2 separate regions of the Homo sapiens genome follow, and region 1 is linked to region 2. Evidence: promoter capture Hi-C in 16 types of primary human blood cells and fetal thymus (Javierre and others, 2016). All regions are on one chromosome and are shown on one strand. The core of a region is centred on a gene start or on the middle of the fragment in contact, and the rest is flanking DNA. Distances in the headings are between cores, read along the strand shown.

What was found. Contacts are between HindIII fragments. The CHiCAGO score rates a contact against its expected background, and 5 or more counts as called.
Region 1: a contact is called between a fragment that was not itself captured here and the fragment with the promoter of NDST3 in region 2, in 2 of 17 cell types (megakaryocytes and erythroblasts). The highest score is 13.1, in megakaryocytes.

The regions. Positions count from the first base shown.
Region 1 is chr4:118,266,571-118,272,327 of GRCh38, forward strand. It overlaps LOC124900765 (a long non-coding RNA gene), which reads left to right. Exons shown (of 2, transcript XR_007058244.1): 2 at 1-201. Among named protein-coding and RNA genes, the nearest start is that of SNHG8, 9.3 kb to the right of the region's middle. The HindIII fragment of the contact is 3,524 bases long and covers 607-4,130 here.
Region 2 is chr4:118,032,523-118,038,395 of GRCh38, forward strand. NDST3 (N-deacetylase and N-sulfotransferase 3) reads left to right here and starts at 1,964. Exons shown (of 14, transcript NM_004784.3): 1 at 1,964-2,070. The HindIII fragment of the contact is 5,573 bases long and covers 1-2,274 here.

The DNA.
Region 1 (5,757 bases), core at 1,119-3,618, 230 kb after region 2:
AAACAAGCTGCGAGACCAGGAAGAAACTCCGAACACATCCGAACATCAGAAGGAACAAACTCTGCACACGCTGCCTTTAAGAACTGTAACACCCACCGGGAGGGTCCGTGGCTTTGTTCTTGAAGTCAGTGAGACCAAGAACCCACCAAGTCCGGACATAATCCTTTTACAAATTAAATCAAAGCACTTTAATTCCTGCAATAGCTCTACTTTTTATGCTACGGTCCTTATAGTGGCCTGCAAGGCCTTACATGATGTGGTATTCATCACCTTTCTAACCGCAGCTCCTCTTTTCAAACTCTCATTCTGCAACAGTTGCACTGGCTCCCTTGCTGACTATCTTATTTAAGACATTCATGTTAACATGCCCACAAATATCAACGTGGCTAACTTCTACACTGTAGTTCAGTCTTTGCTCAGATGTCATTTTCTCAATAAGGCCTACCCTGACAACCTTACATAAAATTTCACCCCTTCCTCCCTTCCCTGACTCCTGATTCCTATTACTCCGAACTAATCTTTTTTGAACCATAGCACTTAAAATCTTATAACTAATTCTGTAGTTTACCAATTTTATTAGATCTTTTGTCTTCTCCTACTTGAATAAGCTTCTCGAAAGCAAACTATTTGTCTTTTCTTTCATCAATATATCCCCACATCGATGGGTCTAGTCTCTGAAATAATAAGTGCTCAATAAATACTTGTTGAATTAATTTCACAATAAGTAACTGGAAAAGACATGACAGTTTTAACATACATATGTTCTTATATTTAAGTGCTAGAAAAAAGTATAACTTTTCATAAAAATCAATAAATTCGATTAACAAAAATATATATTTCCCCAATCATACAAAGACTTAAAACTGTCTTCTAAATAACAAAAAATAAATTCAATTTTAAATAATAATTAAAATTAGCAAAATAATTATTAAATGTAGGACAAAAAAACAAAACCTCTAACTTTTAAATGATAATTACCAGATAATTCTTATAAGTTATCCTAACAATAATACCAAAAGGAAGATACTGCTGGTTTCCTTCTACAGATGAGGAAACAGGTTTGGAATGGATAGATAATTTTCCCAAGGTCACACAAGTAGCAAAGCTCAGACTTATTTTATACCTAGTATCATTTTTCTCCCTTTACACACAACACCAGTTAAGAGCATGGGCTCTGAGCCAGTGAGACTACATTCAAATCCACTTCAAACCTTAGGTTAATTACATTATTTCTCTGTGCCTCAATCTATTCATCTGTAAATTAGAGACAATAATTGTATAGCGCTCATACAATTGTTAGGATTAAATGAGTTAATGAGCACATAAGTACTCAATAAACATTAGTTATCACCATTACTACTATCTCCCTTAGAGACTGTAAATAATTGTAGTCAGGTGCAGTGGCTCACACCTGTAATCCCAGCACTTTGGAAGGCTGAGGTGAGCAGATCACCTGAAGTCAGGAGTTGGAGACCAGCCTATCCAACATGGCGAAATCCCGTCTCTACTAAAAGTACAAAAATTAGCCAGGCGTGGTGGCGTACGCCTGTAATCCCAGCTACTTGGGAGGCTGGGGCAGGAGAATCACTTGAACTCTGGAGACGGAGGTTGCAGTAAGCCGAAATCTGCCACTGCACTCCAGCCTGAGCGTCAGAACAAGACTCTCAAAAAAAAAAAAAAGATACTGTAAATAATTATTTTCAGAACCCTTTTGTGTTATTTTATATAATTTACTTTCTTAGTCCTTTTCAGTAAGTTCTGTTCAGTGCTATAAAGAATGGTGGGTATTTCAAAATTCGTATGGCTTTTATCAAATTTAAGTCCTCAATTGCAGAGATTTCTTTCTAGACCTTCTGTTTTCTAAGAAATACTGCCCATTTACATAAATTATCATCCTGATAAAAGGGTTTTAAATTAGAGAAATACAAAAGTCACTTATCTGGTTCTATTCTACTTAGTTTTCTATAGTTTTACTTATATAATTAAGAAATAACTACTAACACGTCTTACATATTCAGTTGAAGGTTTTTTTAATGATTGTTCATTTGGAGATGAAATATATTTATTTTTCTCTCTATAGTGTAAGTATGACATTTATTTTAAACTTTTTGTTTGAAATTTTACAAAGATGGCAGAAAACAAATCTATAGACCAATCATATTCCTGAATAAAGAGGCACAATTCTCAACGCAATGTTAGCATGCAGAATCCAGAAACAGGTTACAGGTAGAATACACGGTGACAGAGTGAACTTTAAAGAGTGAATATGGAAAGGCTGGTTGAGCACTGTCCAGGAAGGTGGAAATTAATCTATTCATTTATGACTTTTTAAATAGACCTTTTGAGGGTGTATGATTAGCTACTGTAAAACTCACCCAGGTGAAGTGTACATCTCATAACTGCTGAGTCATTAATGGAATTGAATAGCCATCATGGCGATCTGATGTCAGAAGATCTCTGACACCCAGATAGAAGGCTGATAGACGGGGTTCCTCATGCCCATTTGAAGATAAGCCCTGCCCCCAACCCAGCCCCAGTCAACCATTGATCTGTTTTCTGTCACTGTAAATTTGCCTTTTTTGAACATTTCATATCAATAGATTCATACAGTATGTAGTCTTTTGTGTCTGGCCTCTTTTCACTTAGTGACATGGTTCTGAGTTTCATCTATAGCATGTATCAGCCATAGCATGTTTTTTTAAAAAAACTTTTATGTTAAATTCAGGGGTATATGTGCAAGATGTGCAGGTTTGTTACAAAGGTAAATGTGTTTCATGGGAGTTTGTTGTACAGATTATTTCATCACCCAGGTACTAAGCCTACTACCCAATAGTAATTTTTCCTGATCCTCTCTCTCCTCCCACCCTCCGCCCTCAGGTAGGCCCAGTGTGTACTGTTCTTCTCTATGTGTCTATGTGCTCTCATCATTTAACTTAAATTGGATTTATTCTTATATAGCATCTGAAGTCTTTTATTTTACGTTTTTGATTTTCTATTTTTTTGGAGATGCAGTCTCACTCTGTCACCCAGGCTGCAGTGCAGTGGCACAATCTCGGCTCACTGCAACCTCCACCTCCCAGGTTCAAGTGATTCTCGTGACTCAGCCTCCTGAGTAGCTGGGATTACAGGCACCTGCCACCACGCCTGGCTAATTTTTGTATTTTTTGGTAGAGACAGTGAAGACCTATTCCAGTTATAAATACTAACTAATAGGAATTAGTTTCAAAGTTTGCCATAGAATTTTTCTCTCTGAAATGATTTCCATTATAAAATTTGAAATATAGTCCTATTGCAGCGGGGAGACTTAATTTAAACTTTTTGGCAAAGAGAGAGGTAAGATGTGCCTGAGGCCAAAAGAGTTAGTCGACTTTGCCGTAATATACTAAGCTACATTCAAAAAAGTTTGCCAGTTTTGCTTAAATGTACTACCCTGCATTCATTTTTCCTTCTGTACATTATGTATAATTTCCCAGAATTCTTTTTCACTTTTATCATCCTGGCTTCCTCATTCAACAAACGTTTCATTGAGCATGTTCCAAAGTACTACTGCAGGTAAGATGAATATGACTACATTCTTGCCCTCCAGTAGACTGGGCAGAAATATTTTATTTCTCCAACAGAATCATTGTCTAGTTTGATATACAACACATTAACAGTGTATTAACTACTTCAGACAGTAGGAAATGAATTAAATCTCTAATTGATGAATTCAGTATGTTAAAAATCTGTATATCAAGTTCACATATTAAAAAGGTCTGGTGTATTCCAATGGTATGTTTAGAATATGCATCTGGAGAAAGTTGTTCCTTTCTGGTAGAACCTGAAGTTTTCAATATTCACTGTAGACATTCATCATATAAAACTAGAGTCCAGAGGATAGGCTTTTAGAGATACTAGATATGCTGACATTTTCATGTTATTATCCACATATACATTAATACATGCATGCACAATGAACAAATGTATTTAATTCAAAGGGCTTTAAACACATACCTAAATAATAAGGTAACAAATTCAAAGGGATTTAAACATATACCTAAATAATAGTGTAACAGAGCCATCTAGTGGCCACATAAAAACTGTTGTTTCATGTGATTTTGTTTCGTTCCATCAAGTTTTACATAAACGTAAGCTTATCTTCCCACTAATACAGATATTTATAATGCTTATGGATAATGGGCCAAAGTAATTTGGAGCTGGGGTACTAGAGTAAATGTTTGACATCCTAAGACATCTGTAATCTATATTGTGTGTAGAAAAAGGAGAATTTTAACAAGTGATCATTAAATTTTCAAATTATCTTAATTGATATGGGATGAAAGCATTAGATGTTTTTAAATTGTTAGTTTATGAATACTCCAAAACAAGATCTTCTCTTTTAATATGCCATATTAAATGTTAAAATAAATAACACTCTTATTTTGCATAAAGGCAAGTAAGCCCAAAAAAAAAAAAAAAGCCTCACTAGGAAATAGACTAAAGCAAGTACCACAAGCCATCTTCGAAAGAAAGAAAAAGTCAAGCTTTTGAGATGTTAAATATTTAATGAAACATAAGTGCAGAATCTCACTGACGTGCAAGCTTCTACAACCAAGTCAGGCGTTCACTCTTAAAGTGCTGGAGGCCAGTTTGAGATCATAGAACACATAGGCAATCCAATTTTTCAGGCTAAACCATAAAAGGCTCACAATGTTGCTTGCCAAACTTTTCAATAAATTTATATTATAAATGTTTCACAATGTCAAACACTTACTCTAAAATCCCAGCTCCAAAATTCTTGGATCACCATCACCTCAAAATTCATGGATCCAACTTAAACCACATTATCAATGTCCCTCACTGTTCTCAAGTATTAGCATCTCTTCTTGTCTAACTTAAATGTCATGGTAAATCAATATAACCAGTCCCTTGCATGCATTCCTTTTCCCTTCTATCACTTTGCTCACTCTCTTGGCAAACTGCAACTTGGTTAACTCCAACTCCCTGTCAGCTCCATACCAGCACCTATGCAGTTGAGCATGATGAAGAGAAAATACACAATCATGCTAGAGATTTGACTTTGAATTCATTACAAGAACTCAAGTGAGCTCCTAATGTGACCGGGGAAACCCACTACTTTTCCAAGTCTATTGATGCCATCTCCTAATTATATTTTTTCCTCTCTCCTCAAATTTCCAACACTCTCTCCCCGATCCTCACTCTCGGTTGATGGCCTGGTTTCCTATTACCCCGGAAAAAAACATTAGTAGATGAGAACATTCAAAGTTCACACCACCCACTCATCCACAAGCACCTGTACCCATGTACTCCTATTTCTATAGATGAACTGCCTAAACTATTATCTTAGGGTAACCCCTACTTTTGTGCACTAGATCCCATCTCATTTCCTAAGCAGTTCATCACATATCTGCTGCATCATCAGTTTTTCCATTTCTACTGGATCTTTCCCATCAGAATACAAACATACTTTAAGTTCTCCTATCCTTTAAAAATGACCCATTCTTGATCCCACATCCCTTTCCAGATATTGCTGCATTTTTCTTCCTCTTTACAGTGTAACTCTTCAAAATAGTTGTTCCGAATCCATGATTTCCAATACTTCTCCTGTTCTCTCTGAAATTACTCTCAACAAGGTCCCAAGTGACCCTCATATAGCTAACTCCAATGGTCATTTCTCAACTTCCATCCTACTTGTATCATAAACAATTGACCACTTTCTTTTGAAAAACTTTTTTGACTTTTAAGGTATCACACTCT
Region 2 (5,873 bases), core at 714-3,213:
AAAAAAGTGAATGTATTTGTTTATGAATGAAAATATCCAGAGATAGAACTTATTTCAGCTACAGCTCGATTCCAAGCTCGAAAATCTCCATCTGGGTTTCACTTTTCTCCAACTCTCAGTTCTGCCTTCCTGAGTATCAGCTTTATTTTCAGACTTCAAGCTCTAAGCTCACATCTTCATTATGCAAAGTCCAGTAGAAGAGAGTCCACTTTCTTAAGAGAGGAAGGAAAAAAAAAAGTCCCAGAATGGTGGTTTTTTTCTGTTTTTCTCTCTGATTGGCCAGACCTGGGTTACATACCTACCCATGCTACCAGGACAGAAAGCCATCACTGGCCAGACCTGAGCTGTGGGTCTACCAGTGAGTCAGCAGCGGCTGACATCACCTAAAGCAAATGGGCTGCGGGGTGAGATCAAGTGGTTGGATCTTCCAAAATGAACAGGAGTACTGTTTCAACAAGAGTGAGTGCTGGGAAGCAAAACCACAAATGGCCAATACAAAGTATCATTAGTAGACCCCACTTAATACAATTCACATGTTAGTGGAACCAAATGAAATTTTTAAAAATATATATCATTCGATTCACACTTCTAATCAAACTATAGTTCTGGAGAGGGTAACCTCACACCTTGAATCCAAAATATCTCTTCAGTTGCTGGCCTTCCACTTGTCTTCAGGAGCTGAAACACATGGCATTTGAAAAAAACTGGCGAACAGAGGAAACTCTTGCAGCCTCGCAGCCGCCCTGGTCCAGTGCCAACGGCAGGAGCACCACAGGAAGGGACCGCGCGGGTGCGCCCCACCCTTCCAGCGTCGCCTCGGGGACTCGCACCCCTTTCCCTGGCCGCACAAGACGTTTCATCCTTGGCGGCCGCCGCCAACCCGCCGGGAGGGGCGGTCGGAACTGGCAGGCCGGGGCGGAACCCCCGGGGTCTCCTTGTCGAGGCCCGGGCAGCCAGATCCTCAGGGCCGGTCCGGGCGGGAGCCCGGTCGATGGAGGCGGCTCCCGTCCTCAGCTCCCGCTCCCTCCCCTTCCCCGGGGCGGGCGCGCGCGGGCCGGGAGCTGGGAGGCGGCGGCTCCCGCCCGGGAGGCGGTGGCGAGGGCGGCGGAGGCGCGGCCGGGCGGGTCCCAGGGCCGTGGTTCTCCAGCGCAGGAGTCCCCGGCGCACCCGCTGCGCTCGCCCCGCAGCCGCAGCCTGAGCGGCCGAAGTCGCCACCAGCTGTGTCCGCGCAGATCCCGGGCGCGGAGGGGAGAGGTCGCCCGCTTGTCGCCCCCGCCGGACCCCGGGCACCGCGTAGCACCCAAGCGCCACCCGGACGAGGGGCCCTGGGGAGCGGCTGAGGCCGAAGACCCGAGGGAAGGAGGAGCCCGCGGACGGCTGCAGCCCCAGGTAATCTCCATGGAGGACGGGGCCGGTCTCCTCGCCCAGAAACCCGATCCGGGCGCCTTGGAATGCGGACTCCAGAGGCGGCATCTCGACCAGACAAGTTTCTCGCGGCTTGGAATGAGGGAGTCCTGAAACCGACACTCGTTTTATTTAACCAGCTTTTTTCTCCTGTTTTAAATAAGTTTATTTAGACAATGGAAAGAAAAAAACAAACAGCCTCTTGAGTGACTGTGGGTTTGTAAATATAATCCTAAAAGTTTTTCATGGTGTGGTTATTTGCTTGCTCATATTTATTAACCTGTTAACTCTTCCGCTAGTCAGAAAATTGACATGTAAAATATTCTTTGAGGAACGTTACAAGTTTGCTGTTGTATTCGGGCATCCTGTTATTCATCAGCTTAGTTAGCATCTGTCTTCCCCCGAAGTGGTACCAAAGCCGGTCCCTTGGCGACGGGTCTTGCATGTGACACTCTTGCCCTCTAGTGCCTCACCAGCTTGGTAGCAGTTTGATGGCTAATATTAATAAGATGTTACATAACATGAGAGTACTGGGCCAGGACTGGTGTTGCTACCACTTGTAAAGTCAAAAAGCCTGAGCCGATGGTAACGAGTGGTACTGTTTCCGTTTCTTTTCCATCTATTGCAACTTTCTCAAGCATTTTCAGCTCTGAACTTTAATTCCAGGTAAGTGTATTTATTTATTTATACTGTGCATTAATGCCTCACTCATAAATGTAGGGGCTTTTAAGAGATAACAACTTTGCTTTCAAATAATCTAAAAATTTCAAGATTGAACAAGTGCTTCATTTTATTCTTGAAGAAGAAATATAGAGTATTTTGATTAAATTAAGTGAAACAAAGGACCGTCTCATTCAGGGATGATTTTAAAGCTTCCCTTTCATAAGATTATGGTACTAAAGAAATGACCTCTTGTAATTGTTTAAGATATTCACCAACTTATAATGATTCTGAAGTAGATCTGTTTAACAGAACACATGTCTGTTGCCTTGACAGAATTTTGTAAGGAATATCAGAGACTTTAAACTACCTGCCTATCTACACAGTAATGATCCTCAAAAGGCTTTCTATTTGATGCAGTTTATAGACATTATTTAAAACTATACAATTAATAAAATTAAATGGAAATGGAAAGAATCAATCTAGGTATCAAATACAGAAACTTTAAATTTAAAGAAAACAGATATATCTTCTATTTAATATATCCATTTTGTGGGGGCAGGTAAAAGCAAAGTTACATCTTTAAGGGGTTTACTCAGATCCTTTTTCAAATAGTTTTTCTAATAGCTGGATACTGTTTAAGCATCAGAGTTATTTAATGTCGAAAATGTATTAGTATCTATATTCTTTATAAACATATTGAAATATAGCAACATGTAATCTGGAAGAGTTTAGAAGAAAACCCTTCTAGACAATGCAAACAGCTACATTCTTAATACATTTGTATTAAATTAAAATACAAATCAAATATTGAGATGTGTGCAACTGATCTGGGACACACACTTTTTTTTTGTTTTTTTTTTTTGCCCTTAGAAAATTTCATGTTATCAACTACTGAGCAATGCTGTTCACCACCAGAGAGCAGGATGATATGGCAGAGAAACTCTAGAATATCCGATATTCAGCTGAAGGGAATTTTTTTCCCTTTTTCTTCATCCATACCTTCCTATCAATATTATATTTAAGATGGAGATTTCAAATATAAGTTTGAAGGAGGCTCCTTTTTAAAATAGTACTGAACATATAAAGAGGCTTGCCTAAGATAAGCTCTTTTTTTTCTTTCTCTGGTTAACACAGTATCTACCATTTCTAATTTTGTTATCATTTTTCTTTATCATCTTGATGGTAAAACAGAAGATTTGTTTCTTTGTGTAAATAATGTTAATTTTGAGCTTGTCACATGAGTTAATTTTCTTCATAGTCTTTAAAATGAAGAATTCTTACATTACTAAAATGTTTTAGATAAAATAAAACTTTTATCTCTTTCTGGAGATATTTGTTATAGTTTAGTTTGGTGGAGTTATATATACCCTCTTTTTAAATTAATTTTCTTGAGAAAAGCATTATTTCTGAACATTGAGGCAAATATTAATTTTTGGTGTAACTGAAAAGTTTGTTAAAAAATATATAGTAGAAGAGATAATCAGGCATTGGAGATTCTTTTTCTAAACCATATATTCTGCTAAAGAAGTTATTATAAGCTAAAATGTAAATATGTAATTGTCTACCTGTCATTTCAAAATTTTAAAACTGTAAAGAAATTACAATTTTTTTTCTTTTAATCTTGGGACTCTGATTATATGACTTCCTTGAAACCTGATTGAGTTTCAGCTGCTTTTTGGTGATTAGAGCCTTAAAAGTGCATTTGTTAAGATGCAAAATATATTTTTTTAAACTATATGTAAATACTTTGTGATTTATATACACTATAAAATCAGGGAAATTGAATTAAGGATAAAAACACTATTCTCAACTAAATGAATGCCTTGAATTTCTAATTGCTTAACAGTTCTGACAGTAAGGGAAAACAGTAGAAGTTTACTTTCCCTGTGCTGTGTCTATTATAAATGAGCATTCACACTGAAATGCATGAACTCTGAACACCTGTCCAGATTAGGAATGCTGCCAGGCCACAAAAGTAACGACCTACATTATAAAGATAATTAGTCTGAACAATCCTCAAAACTATTTCATGACTGAAGTTTCTCGTAAAGGGGTGATTTTAATATTTCTTGGTTTGTCTGTTTGTTTATAGTAAAAAACTATACTCTTAGATACCTGGATATCACAGTGAGTGATTTATTCTTTCATGTTACTCTAAACATTTTCATCGATTTCATGTAAGTTACAGGACAAGAAAAAAAAAGTAGTCAGGACCTACTACAATTAATTAATGTCTATAAGAAATTATTTCCCCAAATCTTCTACAAATTACTGAGGGCTATAATTCTTGATTACCTGTTGCCAAATAAGAGCTTAAAAATCAATTATTGCAGTCCTATCCTAAAACCTTTAAGCATCTCAATTATGGGTATCCATTTTACATGTGTTTCATTGCTGAATTTTTTTTTTCATTAAAATATTTGAAAATAACATGAAAGTAGACCTAAATTCTAGGACTGGCTCTGCCAAGACAGGAGTGGCCTTGAACAGCTCCCTTGCTGGCTCTGGGGCTTGGTTTCTTCACCTGAAAAATGAGGATTCCAGAGACCCTTTTTTATCCTGTTTGTTCAACATTTTAGAAATTGATCTGGAGGCCAGGACGAAGATAGATGAGAAAACATCAGTGAATAATACAAAATTTAACTTGGTGATAAGTACTATTGTCTAGATTTCTGCTAAGTAGAGATGTTACAGTTTTTACTCATAGAATAGTTACCTTGTACCAGGCACTGTTCTACTTTACATATTAATTTTTAGCTCATATAATCTTCACAAAGATTATTTAAGGTAAATATTATTCCTGTTTCACAAATGAGGAAATTGAGGCACTGAGCGGTTACCTACCTGCCTAAGATCACATCCCTGGCAAGTGCTGAAGCTGGTATGCAGTTTGAGTCCGGCTCCAGCACACATTCCTTTAACCGTTATACTACATTGTCTCTCTATAGGTTTCAAATATTTGTTCTTGATATGCCTCTTGATGGAACAGAGGTAATCCATATACCACTCCAACAATTTCCATCACTTCCCTTACATATGAAATACTCATTCATTCACCCAGGAGGTATTTACTAAGCATCTACTTTTGCACCAGGCATAAAGGAGTCCACAGGACAATTAAATGTGGTGCCTTCCCTAGCTAAGTATATACAGTCTAGTTCAGGTGATTTCTTTCTCCTCTTTTGCTACTGCTGTTAGGTTGAGTCTCACTTGTTCTAAAATGTGCCCAAGGTAACAGAAGAATAATTTACCTGACGCCTTTATTGATGTGTCCATAGAATAGAGAGTAATAGAACCTTCAACCTCCTCAAGACTCCCTATATCATATTTTTTCATTATTCGTTTCTACTCTTTTTGCATCATCTTCTCTCTGCAGATTGGCTGTCTTTCCTTATCTGGTTCATGTAACCTGCCCTAAAACATAGCCAACACTGATCTGTAACTTTACATCTAATGGTCCAGGCAACCAATGAGAGGCCAGGTTAACACTCTCTTGTTCCCATGAGTCTAATGAAGGACAAAGAAAAGGTTTGGATTAGACCCTAAAAGCTGCATTGTCAGCACTCACATATGTCATATGTGAGCATGTGTGACAGAATATGTCAGCGTATTTTGATGCATGCATTCTGGTCCAATCTTAGAGGGTAAAGGCAGACATTTTCCCCCTTAAGTCATATAGGGCAGAATAAACAGCAAACAGCAGTGGGGTAGTTTTCTTCTCTTGCATCACTGGATGGCATAACACTGAGGGAGGTGAATAAAACATATTCTTCTCTTCATAATTTCTAATACAAAGATGGAGGGAG